Linked DNA regions of Homo sapiens: region 1 is linked to region 2. The links are contacts of gene promoters, found by promoter capture Hi-C in human tissues and cell types (Jung and others, 2019). All regions are on one chromosome and are shown on one strand. Each heading gives the region's core, a stretch centred on a gene start or on the middle of the fragment in contact. The rest is flanking DNA. Distances are from core to core; before and after follow the strand shown. Region 1 overlaps PDS5A (PDS5 cohesin associated factor A). Region 2 holds the start of KLB (klotho beta).

Region 1 (3,148 bases), core at 266-2,765, 470 kb before region 2:
ATGAGCATAGGTGGAAGAGTTAACTTTGGATGTGAGGAATAAAATACCTTATTCATAAGACCAATGGAGAAGAAAGGAGATAATCACTGGAAAGCAGAAAAGCACAATGCTAAAGACCTCAATAACAACTCTGATGGCATCACTAGATTATACTGCTCTAGAAAAAACAAGAAGAAAGGTTAAAGTTGACTTTCTGTATTATTTTATTTGGCTAATAATAATAATACATTTAACAACAGTTTGATTGAAACTATCTTCCTTTGTCATTCACCAGTGTTATAAGAAATCTCAGTCTGGTAAATGGAATGGTGAAAGACTAAACAGATAGGAGAGAGGAAAGACATCTTCCATTTAGAAGCATAGTCAATACTCAGTCAAGGAAGTCTGTTTGGTCATGGACATCCCTATCTCATAATTCCAAAGTCCATAGAGGCAAACTTCAGGCATATTTATACATGTCAAATCAGATTCATACCAACTAGCATATGTTCCCATTTTTGGTTAAAGTGCATGGCCTGGAGCCTGCAGTATAGGTTTCATATGTAGCCTTCCATTATCATAAGAGGGCATTGTCACCCTTGCATTTGATGCCACTAACTTTATAAAATAGGCTCTTCTCTAATAACATTAAATATATGACAAATATCTTTCCTTAAATGTTTGTTTCGTTTTATCAATTTTATTCTGATTATAAAAATACTTACGTTCATTGTAGCAAACTGAAACTAGAAAAAATATAACGAAATAGTCACCATTAACATTTGATATATATACTTTCTATGAATGTTCATCTACTAGATGTGTTTGTCTATTTTTTATAAGTTCATATATGCACACTATTTTCTTCATTCTACCTAATGCTTTTTCATGTCATCAACATTTAATTTTTGAAGAATGCTTTATGTTTTTCTGTCATCCTAAAAGAAGACTGTTTTAGTTTACTCTTCATTGTCAGTGTAGAGGTTAAGTATGTGGATTTTGAAAGAAATGCTAATTTTCAAATCCCAACTCCCAGTTTCCTAGCTTCGTCATCTTAGGAGGCTTAAATAACATCTTTGTGCTTTAATTTTCTCATCTGTGTAATGACTATGATAGTCTTCTTTGGGTGGATGTGAACATTAGTTGAATTAATCCATGCGGAAATACCTAGAATGGTGCCTGGCACATAATAGTTAGATATTTTTATTGCCATTCTACTGATATATATGTAGCTGTATCTTTGCATACTTTCTTTCACTAGTATTATTTCAGCTGTTTAATACAACTTGGCCTTTTGCTACTCTCTTTCTGTAGCTACTTTGAAATAACTGAAGGGGATTATAAAAGGGAATTGAAAAATTAGCAATATTGCTACTTAGAAGGTAAATGCAAAAATATGTCATGGGGTAAGCTTTAGATTATGAATTAAGGGTTGCTTGTTATTTTGCATATTTGTGAGGTAACTTTAAAATAAAAATTGTCTCCTGAAGTAGGCTTTTTCTTGAGGCATTGTATTTCTTGGTTTATACTTGGGGGCAGAGATGGAGCTTTTTTACAACTTTCTTTAGATCAGATAATTTTTAAGAGAGCCTTCTCTACTAGCATCCATCCATATAGGGGAAGTGGAAGTCAACCAAAGGAATACTTGTTGGTTTATGGGTTTAAGAAAAAAAAACAACTATATTATTTTTTGCAGGACCTTAATTCCCATTTTACATCAAAAAGCAAAGAGGGGTACTCCACACCAAGCAAAACAGGCTGTGCACTGTATACACGCCATATTCACAAATAAAGAAGTCCAGCTTGCACAGATTTTTGAGGTATATCTAATATATAGGTTGTGTTTATATTGGTCTTTATTTTTTAAGCTCTATAGTTTGATGAAGATGGAAGCTAGATTTTTTAAAGCTGTTTATATGAAGTCCTACCTTAGACTATAAATTCCTTGTGAGCAAGGATTCTGTCTATTTTATGTGGTACTGCATTCCCAGCCTGTAGATCAGATTATATGTTCAAACACCTCATATTGAAGGGTTTTGTGGTTTTTGTTTTTTAGTTTGTTTTTGAGATAAAGTTTCACTTTCTCACCAGTGCTGGAGTACAGTGATGCAATCTCTGCTCACTGCAGCCCCGAATTCCTAGGTTCAAGCAGTCCTTCTGCCTCAGCCTCCCAAGTAGCTGAGAGTACAGGCACCACCACCATGCCTAGCTAATTTTTGGATTTTTTTATAGAGATGGGGTTTTGCCATGTTGCCCAGGCTGGTCTCAAACTCCTGGACTGAAGCGATCCACCCACTTCAGTCTTTCAAAGTGCTAGGATTACACACATGAGCCACCACACCTAGCCTTATGTGTTTATGTTAGAACATTTTACTTAATTTTAGCCTTATTGGTTCAGTGGTGCATTTATCCTCGGAAAGTATTAGTAGATAATTTTGAACAATCCAGTTTAAAGTACCTAAGAACCCTACCTGAAAATTAATCCTGTTTCCCTTTTTTTTACATATAATGACTGGCCTCATTTTACTATTAGAAATGTATTCCTATTATCATAAATTGGAGATAGTGTGACCAAAACCCAGTGAACTCTTACTTTGTATGATTTAAGGTCATTTAAAATGCTTCCACAGGGTAAGAAAACCACTGGTATAGCAAATCCATTGTTGTAGATTAGTCAAAAATAATGCTGATTTGATGAAGCAAAAATGTTTTTCTTTAAACTTCTTTTTGTTGGATTTTATTTTTTCTTTTATCTTTTTTCTACATTCTTTCAATCTTGCTAAATTTTAGTAGGTGAATTAAGAACCAGGTGTCTTAACATGGTTGAAGTTAGTTATGATCGTATTAGAGAAGATTGGTTTGGGCATGGTAAATTCAGGAGGACTCAGGAAAATGTACTGTTTCAGTAGAGTGTCTAGATATTTATCAAACAAATTGGTAATTTTGTCTGTTTTATTTTTATAGCCACTCAGTAGGAGTCTGAATGCTGATGTGCCAGAACAACTTATAACTCCATTAGTTTCATTGGGCCACATTTCTATGTTAGCACCAGATCAGTTTGCTTCCCCAATGAAATCTGTAGTAGCAAATTTTATTGTGAAAGATCTGCTAATGAATGACAGGGTAAGTTTCTCATTTAATTAAATTGAGAATCATGAGATTAAGGCTG
Region 2 (2,895 bases), core at 356-2,855:
GATGCATGTAAAATACTTAATGTAGTCTGTGGTACATAATAAGTACTCAGTAATTATTACCTATTATTTTGCTTGTATTTTCACTATTGTTTTACTAATTTTAACATTTCTCAACATTATCTCTAGCTTTTGAAATATATTGCTTGAAAATTGCTTTAGTAGAGCACATTCTTCCCAGTTCTTATGGGAAGAAATGTGTTTAGCTCCCATAACAATTAATCTTCTCTTTTTTGCTATGTAACACAAATAAAATCAAAAGTGAAGTATATTTAAATTTCTGTATTTAATATGCATGAGTTAGCTAACATTTATTTGGCTTACTTATTTACTTACTTTATTTACTTATTAGCTAAGTTAGCTATACTTAACAACAAATACATATTTGAAATGGTTGTGCCTTAAGATAATTCTGAAATGATTGCATGTTGTCAGAAAAGGGTTCCAACAATTAAATTTATGAAGCACTGTTTTCCCACAGAATGAAAGTAAGCTCATATATTCACACTGTAGTGTATAATGGTAGATTTAAAAATAGCCTCAAAGTGCAACTTTTGAAAAAACTAATTGGATTAATACATTAAAAATACCTTAGATAAATAAAACATACACTAACTTAAATGCAAAATTTGAGGATAGATCTTTTGAATTAGCTTAAAATCAGTTGCCTTGATTTCAGTGAAGAGAATTACTGAGGCAGAAGGTAAATTCTTAAATTCTTAGTGTTTTCTGAAGCTATAAGAAGAAGCTAGCTGTACAGTACCTTGATCAAGTTGTGTCCCACAGTGTAGACAGCTGCTAAATTTCCCTTCTCTCCAGGGGCATGCATACCTGTCCCATACCCATGCCAAGCCACTAGATATGGGTTGTGAATTGTAATCCAATATTTGACACGGTCCCCAAACATCTGGAAACAGTATGTGGCATAGTCATTGAAGATATCTATTATGGTATCATTTTTCCACCCCCCATATTTTTCTTGTAGTGCCAAAGGCAAATCCCAGTGGTATAAAGTAACTATAGGTTCAATGTTTCTAAGCACTAGAGCGTCCAGAAGAGTACTGTAGTACTGCAGACCTTTTGCGTTGGCAACTGTTACTATTCCATCGGGGAAAAGCCTTGGCCAGGAAATTGAAAATTGATAAAAAGAAACTCCTATAAAATCCAGGGCTGATAAGTCTTTTTCCAGAAAAATATAACTGTCACTGGAACCATTCGTGCTGCTGACATTTTTAAGGTGTGTGTGGATGAAATGATCCCATATAGAAGGTCCTTTTCCATCCTTCTTCCAACTCCCTTCCACTTGCAATGCTCCAGTCCCAATACCCCAGAAAAAGTTTTTAGGGAAAGTGTCATAGAGAAACAGCTGACTTTCATTTACCGGAGTAAAATTAGGATTTTTAGACCATATAGCTCTTCCATCTCCAGAGAATCCAGTAACAGCTCGTAGCAGAATAAGTGCTGACAGGATGACAGATCTTTGCAATCCCCCGTTGGACATTGTATTCCTATAGCGTGTGGTTATTTCATCAGTGCTGAAGAAAATCCATTCATTCCCTGGAGATCCTGCCGCACAGCCTGGCTTCATTTGCCACCAACTGCTGGACTGTCTTATCAAAGCTTCAGTAAAAGCTTGTGATTGTAAAGCTCTGTCAATGATTAGCTTGAACTGGGAGACTGAGGATGGGTCATAGAGAGCAACGTAATTTGAGGGAGGTGGCCCTATTGCAGTCACCAACGCGTCTCCTTCTCTCTCATTATGGAAAAAATTAGATGAAAATGCATCGGTGACAAGAGTTTGAATGTGTAACTAACACATATGTAAACACTGGATTAAAATCACATTATTTTCCGTGTAGCCTTTCATATTGACCCAAATCTTTTCTGAATGTTTTGAACATTATTGAATAAGGTATATAGCTTTTCTATTTTTAGAGTTTTTGTGTGGTAATTTTATAATCTCATATATCAAGAAAAATAACATATACAAGTATATAGCATTCCTACATACCAATAGTAAAGAATTAGAAAACACAATAAGAAATTACACTTCTCCACAAAATTATAACGCATCTAAGAACAATCTTAATAAATGTTACCTATTTTAGGAAAATTGCAAAAATGTATTGGTAGATTTGAGAGAAGACTTGAATGAGAAAATATAGCACTTTGTGGATGGAAAAATGAAATACTTTTCAATTTAATACATTTAACTTAACTAAAATCCTCTAATCTCTAATTTTATTTTTTATTTTATTTATTTAACTTAACTAAAATTCTCTAATCTCTAATTTTTTAATTAATTAATTAATTTTTAATAAGAGTCTTGCTTTGTAGCCTAGGCTGGAGTGCAGTGGTGTCATCACAGCTCACCGCAGCCTCAACTTCCCAGGCTTAAGCAATCCTCCCTCCTCAGCCTCCAAGTAGCTGGGACAACAGGCACATGCCACCATGCCCAGCTGATTTTTGATTTTTTGGTAGAGGTGGGGTCTAGCTATGTCCCCCAGGCTGGTCCTGAACTCCTGGGCTCAAACAGCCCTTCTGCCTCGGCCTCCTAAAGTGCTTGGGATTATAGGTGTGAGCCACCATGCCTGGCCTAATCCCAAATTTTAGTTCAAGAAAATTATTACGAAAGGCCAGGCACAGTGATTCATGGCTATAATCCCACCACTTTGGGAGGCCAAGGCAGGCAGATCACTTGGGGTCAGGAGTTTGAGACCAGCCTAGCCAACATGTTGAAACCCCGTCTCTATTAAAAATACAATTAGCTGGGCACGGTGGTGGGCACCTGTAATCCCAGCTACCTGGGAGGCTGAGGCAGGAGAATCTCTTGAACCTGGGACGTGGAGGTTGTAGTGAGCTGAGATCGCACCACCGCACTCCAGCCTGGGCAACAGA

The links. Contacts are between HindIII fragments. The study calls those that stand out against the background at their distance.
Region 1: a contact is called between a fragment that was not itself captured here and the fragment with the promoter of KLB in region 2, in 1 of the 25 tissues and cell types used here (thymus).

The regions. Positions count from the first base shown.
Region 1 is chr4:39,872,940-39,876,087 of GRCh38, reverse strand. PDS5A (PDS5 cohesin associated factor A) reads left to right here. Exons shown (of 33, transcript NM_001100399.2): 20 at 1,676-1,799; 21 at 2,944-3,102. Among named protein-coding and RNA genes, the nearest start is that of PDS5A, 100 kb to the left of the region's middle. The HindIII fragment of the contact is 9,111 bases long and covers 1-3,148 here.
Region 2 is chr4:39,405,640-39,408,534 of GRCh38, reverse strand. It overlaps KLB (klotho beta), which reads right to left and starts at 1,605. Exons shown (of 5, transcript NM_175737.4): 1 at 761-1,605. The coding sequence starts at 1,585. The HindIII fragment of the contact is 19,436 bases long and covers 772-2,895 here.